3 separate regions of the Homo sapiens genome follow, and regions 1 and 2 are each linked to region 3. The links are contacts of gene promoters, found by promoter capture Hi-C in blood cells and fetal thymus (Javierre and others, 2016). All regions are on one chromosome and are shown on one strand. Each heading gives the region's core, a stretch centred on a gene start or on the middle of the fragment in contact. The rest is flanking DNA. Distances are from core to core; before and after follow the strand shown.

Region 1 (3,065 bases), core at 38-2,537, 5.3 Mb before region 3:
TTGTAAACTCTATGAAGTCCAGGACCAAAGACACATGTAATCTCAAGACTGGAAATATCTTTAACAAAACCATCAACTAATTATTCTGTTGATGTGTGGCTCCCCTGTACCAAGTCCCTATTAAGTGAGCTTCAGAATCTCCTTGAAGCAAAATTCTGTGGTTGAGGTATTCACACATGCTAAGGTAGGCAATTCTTTGGGTCGTGCTACAAGGGCATCTTCTTTTCAGGATCTTAAATCTGTTCCCTGAAGTTTGCATCACATGAAACAAATCAACTTCACATGATAGGTCATTTCATATTTGGAGAGAGTCCAGTAGTTTTCTCTCTTCTAGGTGAGTCCTGGAAGGTTTAATCAATCCTTCTTCACTTGCCCTGTTTTTGAGTTCTCGTCATCATTTTGCTCTTCCCTGATATAATGCCAGCTTGATTAAAGTCTTCAAATGCTGAACACAGCACTTCAGAGGTGGTCTGACCAGTAAAGACAATAACTGGATCACTATTGGCTGCCTCTACAAAACAGTTCTACCAGGCATCGGGGCACATTACCTTGAGGAAGCGGGAATGGCAGAAGAGAGCCACAACAAACATATTAACTCATACTATCTTTGCATTGTTGGCTTTTAGTCTAGAACTCTTTGCAGATAAACCACACAATTCTTTAGGTTAGTTTTTCTTCGTATCTTCCTATCTTTTCAATCGAGTTAGGGAATCTTTGGGCTTTCTGTTTTTGGAGGAGGTCTTCTGACCGAAGAGCCGACTTGCAGAGATCACTTTGAGGGAACTAAGCTGAGAATCCAGAAAGCTTATGGAAAACAGGCCTTGACACCAGAGAACCATGTATACTCTCTAGCAGCCAGAGGGCTTTGGCTGAAAACGACGATAGCAACTACCTGTTTCTTCATTCAAATTGCTCTCCTTTCCTTTACCTTTAATAGGAATTATTTCCTCCACATATTTACCTTACAGAGAAGGGCGGGGAGAAGACGCGGCAGACTGAAGTAAATGCAGGGAAAAAACTCACAGGTAGAGAGGTAGAGACGGCAGGCCTGGCCCGTTGCGGGCAGCCAGGGTAAAGTGGAGCGTCCCGCTCCCGCCCTGGGGCGCATCCTCGCCGCCGCCGGGACCTTCCGCCTCTGCTCCTCCGAACCCAGCGGACTAGAGGCTGGAGGCGGGAGGCGGAGCGGCGCGCGCACGCGGGCGGGGCAGAGGGCCCGGAGTCGACGAGTCGACGTGCCGACGTTGGCGCTGCAGCGGGGCGGTGACGTGTAGGCCGGCGCCAGCTCCACTCTGTCCCTCCTCGCCGGGTCTGTGCGTCTTTGCGTCTGTCTGTCTGACTGATGGTCCTCACACGCGGTTCCCTGTGACTGGGCGCGACCCCGGCAAGCGCGGCTTGGAGGGCGGACGGGGCGCGGCGATACAGCTGCCCGCTCGCATCTTTGGCCCTGCGCTCAGCTCCTCACCCGGCGTGGGAAGTTAAAGTAAAACCGAAAGGGAAGAAGGCGCGGTGGCAGGAGCTGACAGAGTGATGGGAAACGCGTGAGCCAGGCCGAGAGGTGAGGAGGTGGAGGTGGAGGTGGGAGGACGAGAAGGGTCGCCGCGGCCAGGGGAGCTGGCTGGAGGCGGGGACGGCGAGGCGGGCTACGCGACCCGCCAGAGATTCTCTTCCTGCCTCCGGGGCAAGTCCCGACCTGTCATCCTTTTCAGTGGCATGAGGTCGAGTCCGGGGTCTCGCAACAATACCGCCCATTCCTAGAGTTTGTAGGTGGGGTTGGGGATAGAAAACTTAACCTAAGCTACATATTGTCCAAGTGTTAAGCCACAACGTGACCAGATGAGGTTTTTCTGTCCCATGCATGGGTAATTTGTTTTCTTTTTTTCTGTTACAAAGCCTTGATAACTTCGTTTTCTTCACGTAGATTTGGGGAAAGAAATCTTCCTCATATTTTTCCCCCAACACACTGGAAAGTAAATAGGTAGCTGACCGTGATGGATTGTGGGTGAATTTCGCAATCAAGGAGCCTATAATGTCATTTTGAAATAAATAAATGTGTATGTGGGTGCTAGGGAGGTTTTGTGAGTACTGGGCAGTCATTTCAAATAGGTTTCTTATAAATTAACTTACTCATGGAATGCAGTGTGCTAATGGTATTTGCTATTCTTTGGTTTAAAAGAAGCATAATTCTAGGGGCTGGTAAAAGTTTGATGTGTTGTCACTTGTGCATTCAAACTCATGGTTACATTTTCTTTCTTTCCCTAGGTTAGGTGAGATTGACAGCCATTTTCTCCATCACCAGATTTTATGTTTCATAGATTGAAATCCTTTTTCTGATTCTCAAAGTTCTCAAATGTTGAGAATTAAGCTTTTGGTTTTACTATGGATTGTGCTCCAGTTTATGTTGTCTCTTTTTTTTAATGATGGTTATAATAGTCTTGCATGAGAAAAATGATCCTTAAAGATGCTCTTAAGCTTAGGCTAAATAATCCTATTTATATGAGAAATTAATTTTTCATGGTTCAGCTTTCTTGATCCCTGCTTAACAGTTTTTTGTCATTCATTCATTCAAGTCTTCCTATGTGTCAAACGCTGGGCTAGGCCTAGGAGAGCAAGAGAGAGACAGTCTCTGTGCTCATGAACTTTCTATAATCCAGCAGCCTCCTTTTAAGACAGAATCTTGACTAGGGTTCTTTCTCATGCCATGGATCTGTAGTTAACCAAAACAAAGCTTTTAAAAGAAAAAGTTATTGTCAATGTATATATGTAATTGGCATTGAAAGGGGAACAGATGATCTTGCTTTAACAGCATGATTTGATATTGCCTTTGATCAAAAAGTAGTATATGTACCAGTGGTTTGCCATTTCAGAAGAGTAAGTTTTTCTTTTTCAAAGCTTGTTTAAATATAAAGTTCACAGTTCTACCTCAGTTTCTACCTCAAAAAAAATAAATAAATAAAAAGCTTTTTCTTTTGAGGTAGAAATCAGTTTCTTTCCAGTCTTCACTTTGGTCTGATTGATCTCCTGTGTATCTCTGGAACCCCTAGGCTCAAGCAGTCCTCCTGCATCGG
Region 2 (3,190 bases), core at 527-3,026, 8.1 Mb after region 3:
AATACCAGTTTTTAAACGTATTTCAACTTTTAAATACTAAATGTTTTTAAGTACGATTTTCTCTGGCAGTTTAACATCAGACCAAACTATTTCTTGTTCACTCCATTCACAAATTCTCCAGTATAAAACTTCAGTTATTAGCAATTTCAATTATTTCAGGGTAACAGCAAAAGTCCATATGTAATCACTTCAAATTGGGCAAATAATTCAAATCACACCCAATGCCAGTAACTATAAAGCTAGCCCACAACTCAACTGGCAGCCACATCTTAACCCTGCATTGTTCCCTGCTTCTCACGAAATTCTATTAGCTCCCATATAGTGTTTGTGTGGAAATGTCCCCCAAAAGAAACTTACAGTTTAAAATGTTTTTTTTCGGTTATGTTTTACTATAGTTTATGGGGACATTATTTGTAATACTTAAGAACTTAGAAATTCTGTAAGTCCCAGATAAATCCTTTGTGGATATTCGGAAACTATGGAAACTGTAGTTTTGTTAGGATTACAATCAAGGCTCAACAAATATGTATTGGCAATAAGCCTAAACCTTTACATTGTTGCAGCTATTTCAAGTAATGATTTGACTTCTGTAATTTATAAGTTTTCGTTCGGATCAATTTTGCTATCCCCATTCCATTTTAGTTATCAAAACAATTCTATTTCTTTTTCTTTTATTTCCTGTGTTGCTACAAAAAAAGGCTTTTAAGATTGGACTTATTTGAAATGAAACAGAAAGAAGACATAAGAGAAGCATATGCAACTAAAGACAATGCCCCTGGGCAGGGCCTGATGAGAAACATGGACCCCGCAACAGGGAAAATAACTTGAAACCCACGCAAGAAGATATTCCTTATGTATTCGTTCAATATTTATTCAAGGGTGAAGCCAAGTGCTCTATGGAGGAAGGGTGGAGCAAGAATCCGGGTGTTGCCCAACTTCTCCTGGTTAATGCACCACAGTCAAAGAATCCACCTCTGGTCCCAACTTACACACACTGCTCAGCAAAAAGTGGTGCGGAGTCAATTAGACTCGCCCTCCTTAAATGTCAATTAGTCAACAAATACGCCTTCACCCGAATGTGCCATCCCTCAGGAGGAGGGAGGTGGATCTCAGCTTCCACCCCAAATAGCAGCATACAGCATTCTCTATAATTACACACAGCATACAGGTGGGAACTGTTAACGACTGTTATCTTCCTTTCGTTACGATTTCAGTGCTGTTTTGACGCCCCAGTGATGTCTTTAGTGGTTGTTGCATGGCCCAGCCGCCGCATGGGATCTGCGCCCGGAGCCTGCCTTTAAGCCTCTGAGCATCCACAGGGTAGGAGGCGCAGAGGAGACCGGAGCCGCGGGGCCAGGGTGAAGAACTGTCCTGCCTCGCTGGGTAATGCGGTCCAGCCCCGGACCCACGCCCTGGCCTCTCTCCGGGTCCGCCGCAGCCCCGGCCTGTCAGAATTCGGTTCCCACCCACTCCCAGCTAGTGGAGGTCAGTGCGGTCTCTGACTCCGACCTGCCCAGCGCGGAGTCAGCCGCGGAGACTGCAGCCGCAGCGGAAGGCAGGCTGCCCTGACTGCCGGGAGCGGCTCCACGCAAACTCCTGACGCCTCAGCCAGGCCCCAGAGGCACTGGGCAACCAGGGTGCTCCGCTGCCCGACAGGGGCTGACCAGCGCAGATGCTCGCCCGCCGCCGCCCCCCGCGGACTCCCCACTCCCAGCAGACCCAGTTCTCACCTCTCGGGGCAGCCATGGTTCCCCGACAGCCCCCCGCGGAACTGACGCCCGCCCCCTCCGCGCCCCCGCGCAGGACACCGGGGACCGCCCCTTGTGGTCATAGAGACGAAGCCGCTCGGCCTAGAGCGCCTCGCCGGCCTCCCGGTCGGCCACGCACTAAAACTGGGCTCAGGAATCCAAGCTACACCCCAAAATGGGGAGAACGCGGATCGAAGGGAGGCCTTCCCGGCCGCGTCCTAGGTGACAGGTGTGTGAAATTCGGTTGGGGAGGTAGTTCTGTAAACTGCGTCTCCCCGCCAGCTAAGGAAGTTGAGTGAAGGGAGCGTTGCCGTCTGGGAATCGTAGTCCTCACAAAGGCGTGAGTAGGCGGCAAATAAGGATTTGGGTTTAGCCTTGGGGATTCACTCCTGTCAAAGCTGTTAGAGAAGCTCCCAGAACTCGTAAAGTAACAGAAACTACTTGCGGCAACATTTGTAACTTCCACCTGGCTCATTATCTTCCACTGTTACCTTGTGTTCTAGATAAGTTATAATTTATTCTACATATCGTTCAGAAGTCTTGTGCCTGTTCCATATCGTCAGCAGTCATCGGTTGTATTTACCCAGCCAGGCATTCTAACTAATGATCTTCGCACAACAAAACGGCCTTTAAAAAATCAGATGTATCGGCCGGGCGTGGTGGCTCACGCCTGTAATCCCAGCACTTTGGGAAGTCGAGGCAGATGGATCACCTAAGGTCAGGAGTTCGAGACCAGCCTGGCCAATATGGCGAAACCCCGTCTTTACTAAAAATACAAAAAATTAGCCGGGCGTGGTGGCGCGCACCGGTAATCCCAGCTACTCAGGAGGCCGAAGCGGGAGAATCACTTGAACCCGGGAGATTGCAGTGAGCCGAGATTGCGCCCCTGCACTCCAGCCTGGGCGACACAGCGAGACTTCGTCTCAAAAAACAAAAAAAATTAGATATATCAACAGGCATTTTAACCACTATAATCTCCACTTTCACTAGGGGATGTTAATTAGCTATCATAATTGATATTAGAAATAATTCATTGGTGAAATAAATGATGTTCAAGATATGTGGATTGGTTTAAAATAATATGAAAATACCTCAGCACTTACAGGAATAGGGATGCAAGATTCTGAGCTGCCCAGCAGCCCACACCTTCTGCAGCATGTTCTTTCCCCAAAATTGTCCTTTTAGAGGGTTGGTTGTATACCATTGTCTTGTTAAATATACATATAGATATATCTGGTCTGTTAACATTGTTGGAACATTTTGCATGCCTTATTAGCATCATATTAATATTGGGAGGGGCTCCCAGGAGACCAGAGTTGACTTTGTAGAGGCAGACATTTGATTAATCTCATTTTGCAATAGTGTTGGACTTTTCCTCTACCTGGTAGTAAGTGTGCTCACTGGTGCTAATCTTCCCTTATTGTAATTGATACAGTTTCCAC
Region 3 (2,804 bases), core at 77-2,576:
CACAAGATGAAAGCTGCTGCTATATGGTTATGTTTTCAATTAAGGATTATGTACCTAATAAACAATGATTAACTGTTACCTACTCCATAAACTGTGCCCAAACTTCATCTAAAGACAGCTTATTCTATTTTATGATCATACATTCACTATTCGTCACACGAATAACAGCAACAGCTCTGGAAATGGTGTTTTCATTGTTGTGATTTTTTGTTTTGGGGGGTGTTTTTCTGCATTGAGCCTGAAAATCCACAAATTCACAGCACTCATGTTTTTTTCAGGTGTGATACACCTGAAATAGATGTATTGTCATGAAAGTGATTTGCAAACAACGTGATACAGTATCACCAATATCTAGGTTTTACTTTATATTTTTGTTTCAAACTACTGCCTCAATACTTTAACGTGAACAGCCTATTCCAGTCCCATTTTTCTTATTTTCAAGTTCTTAATCAACATTATCCCCCCCTTGTTGTTGTTTTATAGCACTTCCACATTTTCTCCTAACACTTATCCGTAGGGTCTTACAACAACAAAACCAAACAGTTATACCTGCCTGTACTTCAAGTTGCTTCTTTGGAAAAAGGAACAACAAAAACACTAATCCAGCACTGTTGCATCCCGACTTAGCAAAGGCTAAGAGTCTAAGATGACAGTGCCAAACACGTTAACAGGTGAACTGAAAAACCATCTCTAGCGGCCTCGCCATCGGGCGGTCTCCTCCCGATGCCCAGAGGCGACAGCTACCTTTCCGTTGCACCCAGAGCCCAGCAGGCCTCGATCCTTCTACTCTCCCGGTCGGCTCAAGGCCCAGAGGCAGTCTGGGGGCACAAGGAGAAGGTGCTGAAAAAGGCTTCCATCCGACCCGAAATTTCCACCTTGTCGGGGAGACAAGGAAAATCCGAGGCGACAGGAGGTACCGTTTCAAAGAGGAGGCGGCGACGAGGCCAGTGAGGTGGGGATAAAGCAGTGTAAAAGGCAGTAAAACTAACGCAGACTAAAACAGGCCTAAGAGTGACAGCCTAGGTTAATCGAGGGGGCTACAGGCTCGCCGCTGGGCGCCACCAGCGCCTGCCAGAGGGGCGCCGGGTCAAAGGGCGCCCGGAGGAAAGCGGCCACCAGATTGGCTGGCGGGCGAGCGCGCAGGCGCCCGCGGTGGACCTCGTGCCTGCCGCCGCTGCTGGCGCCGCCGCCTCCAAGAGGTCTGACTCCTGCAGCTACTCACCAGGGTCGGGTAATTCACTTCTTGCAAGGACTCGGCCAGAGGAGAGGTTAAGACCGCGAACATAGAGCTGACTGCCGCCGCGCCCCGAGCCCAGACAGCCCCTCCTCCCCGAAGGCGCGCGCACAGCGTTCCGGGCGCTTTCAGGGGCGGGACGGGTGGGGGCGGGGTCACGGAGCGGGCGGGGCTCGGGGTCTTCCGGAGCCTCCGGTCGCGGGTCTAAGAGGACTAGGGCGGGAGCGGCGCGGAAGAAAGAGAGGACTGCGTTTTGGGGCGTTCTGTCAGAGGGGAAGGACGTGTGGATTGGAGTCAGACTGCACTCCCGCCCTATTTCTGCAAGTAGAACTCACTGCCTTTAGAAACGGTCTTCTGAGGCTCTGTTGGGAGGCTCTAACTGTATTACAGAGGACACATTTTTGTTTGTTTTTATGTGAAACATTCAGAAGTTGCTTGCATCAAGTGCTTTACAAGTACACTGGTTTTCAAACTTTTAAAGTTGAGGAACTGTTTTGATTTTTGTAAAAATAGAACTTTACTTGGAAGCCCAAGGTAGGCAGATGGAGATGGCGTTTTTAATTTGCGAATGTATTCTATAAAATCACATCTGTACTGAAGTACTAGAAATAATTGAGGATAAGTCAGATGTGAAGAGCAAGAACTTTTGAAATAGGATTACAACTGAAGGTTTCCATCTTACATTAGCTTCAGAAAACAAGAAAATGCTATCTTTTGTTTGGTTACATAGTAACAGGAAGTCCTTATTCAAGCTAGAACTTGCTGATGTGAACAGTTTCATAAGGGCTCTCCTTAAAAAGATTTTGTACACCAATTTTAATTGGGAAATATACATATGAGTATATCTCATGTGCATATCTTAAAGAAGAATGAAAAATGCCCAGGTACCCACTACAGAGCTTAAGAAAAAAAAAATGCCAGTATTTTTGGAGTCTTCTAGAAAGAAGACTCTCTAAAAACATCTCCTTCCTTCCGTTCACCATTATGCTGAATTTTATATTACTCATTCCGTTGTATTTCTGAAAATAGTTACATATGTACGATTCCCTAAAAATACTATTTTCCTAGTTTTATATTTCATATGTGAATCATTCTTCATTTTTCCCCTTTTTTCACTAATTTAGGTTTTGAGAGGTTTTGAGATTCGTCTGTATACAAGTCCATTTCCCATAAACTAGACTGGCACATCGTTACCCTTATGCTATTGTTAGACTTTTTAAGTTTTTGCTGATAAGAGCATCTGATTGCTCTTTTAATTTGCATTTTCCCTTTTGCTAAAGCCTGTTCTTAATTTTATCTCATTTTTTATTAAATTGCTTGCTTTTGAAAATTATTTTGTAGATAATATTTATTTTTTCTAGTTTAATTCTCTCTTGTAAGTTACATGTGTTGCAAATGTCTTCTCTTAGTTTATGGACTGTCTTTCCAGTTTTTATGATGTTTCTTGATTGCCAAAAGCTTTATGCTTCAGTATACAGCTTTTTGAATTTAATAATATTTTACATTTTAATTTTGTGCTTTTTGCTTTCTTGCTTACAAGATTCTTCCCAACATAACATCAGAAACTATT

Evidence for each region. Contacts are between HindIII fragments. The CHiCAGO score rates a contact against its expected background, and 5 or more counts as called.
Region 1: a contact is called between the fragment with the promoter of ASCC3 here and the fragment with the promoter of MANEA in region 3, in 7 of 17 cell types (non-activated CD4 T cells, total B cells, total CD4 T cells and 4 more). The highest score is 16.1, in non-activated CD4 T cells.
Region 2: a contact is called between the fragment with the promoter of SLC35A1 here and the fragment with the promoter of MANEA in region 3, in 1 of 17 cell types (activated CD4 T cells). The highest score is 5.4, in activated CD4 T cells.

Annotation. Positions count from the first base shown.
Region 1 is chr6:100,879,551-100,882,615 of GRCh38, reverse strand. ASCC3 (activating signal cointegrator 1 complex subunit 3) reads left to right here and starts at 1,287. Exons shown (of 42, transcript NM_006828.4): 1 at 1,287-1,555. It overlaps LOC107984041 (a long non-coding RNA gene), which reads right to left and starts at 1,159. Exons shown (of 8, transcript XR_007059692.1): 1 at 962-1,159. RefSeq lists an enhancer at 1,324-1,443. The HindIII fragment of the contact is 1,558 bases long and covers 807-2,364 here.
Region 2 is chr6:87,471,560-87,474,749 of GRCh38, reverse strand. SLC35A1 (solute carrier family 35 member A1) reads right to left here and starts at 1,776. Exons shown (of 8, transcript NM_006416.5): 1 at 1,731-1,776. The coding sequence starts at 1,746. It overlaps LOC124901357 (a long non-coding RNA gene), which reads left to right and starts at 1,805. Exons shown (of 2, transcript XR_007059668.1): 1 at 1,805-1,977; 2 at 2,252-3,190. RefSeq lists enhancers at 908-1,007, 1,058-1,227, 1,223-2,129 and a silencer at 1,678-1,817. The HindIII fragment of the contact is 12,962 bases long and covers 1-3,190 here.
Region 3 is chr6:95,576,057-95,578,860 of GRCh38, reverse strand. It overlaps MANEA (mannosidase endo-alpha), which reads right to left and starts at 1,326. Exons shown (of 5, transcript NM_024641.4): 1 at 1,223-1,326. It overlaps MANEA-DT (MANEA divergent transcript), which reads left to right and starts at 1,410. Exons shown (of 3, transcript NR_104136.1): 1 at 1,410-1,768. RefSeq lists enhancers at 727-826, 290-1,230 and silencers at 1,027-1,086, 1,367-1,456, 1,507-1,586. The HindIII fragment of the contact is 3,606 bases long and covers 1-2,694 here.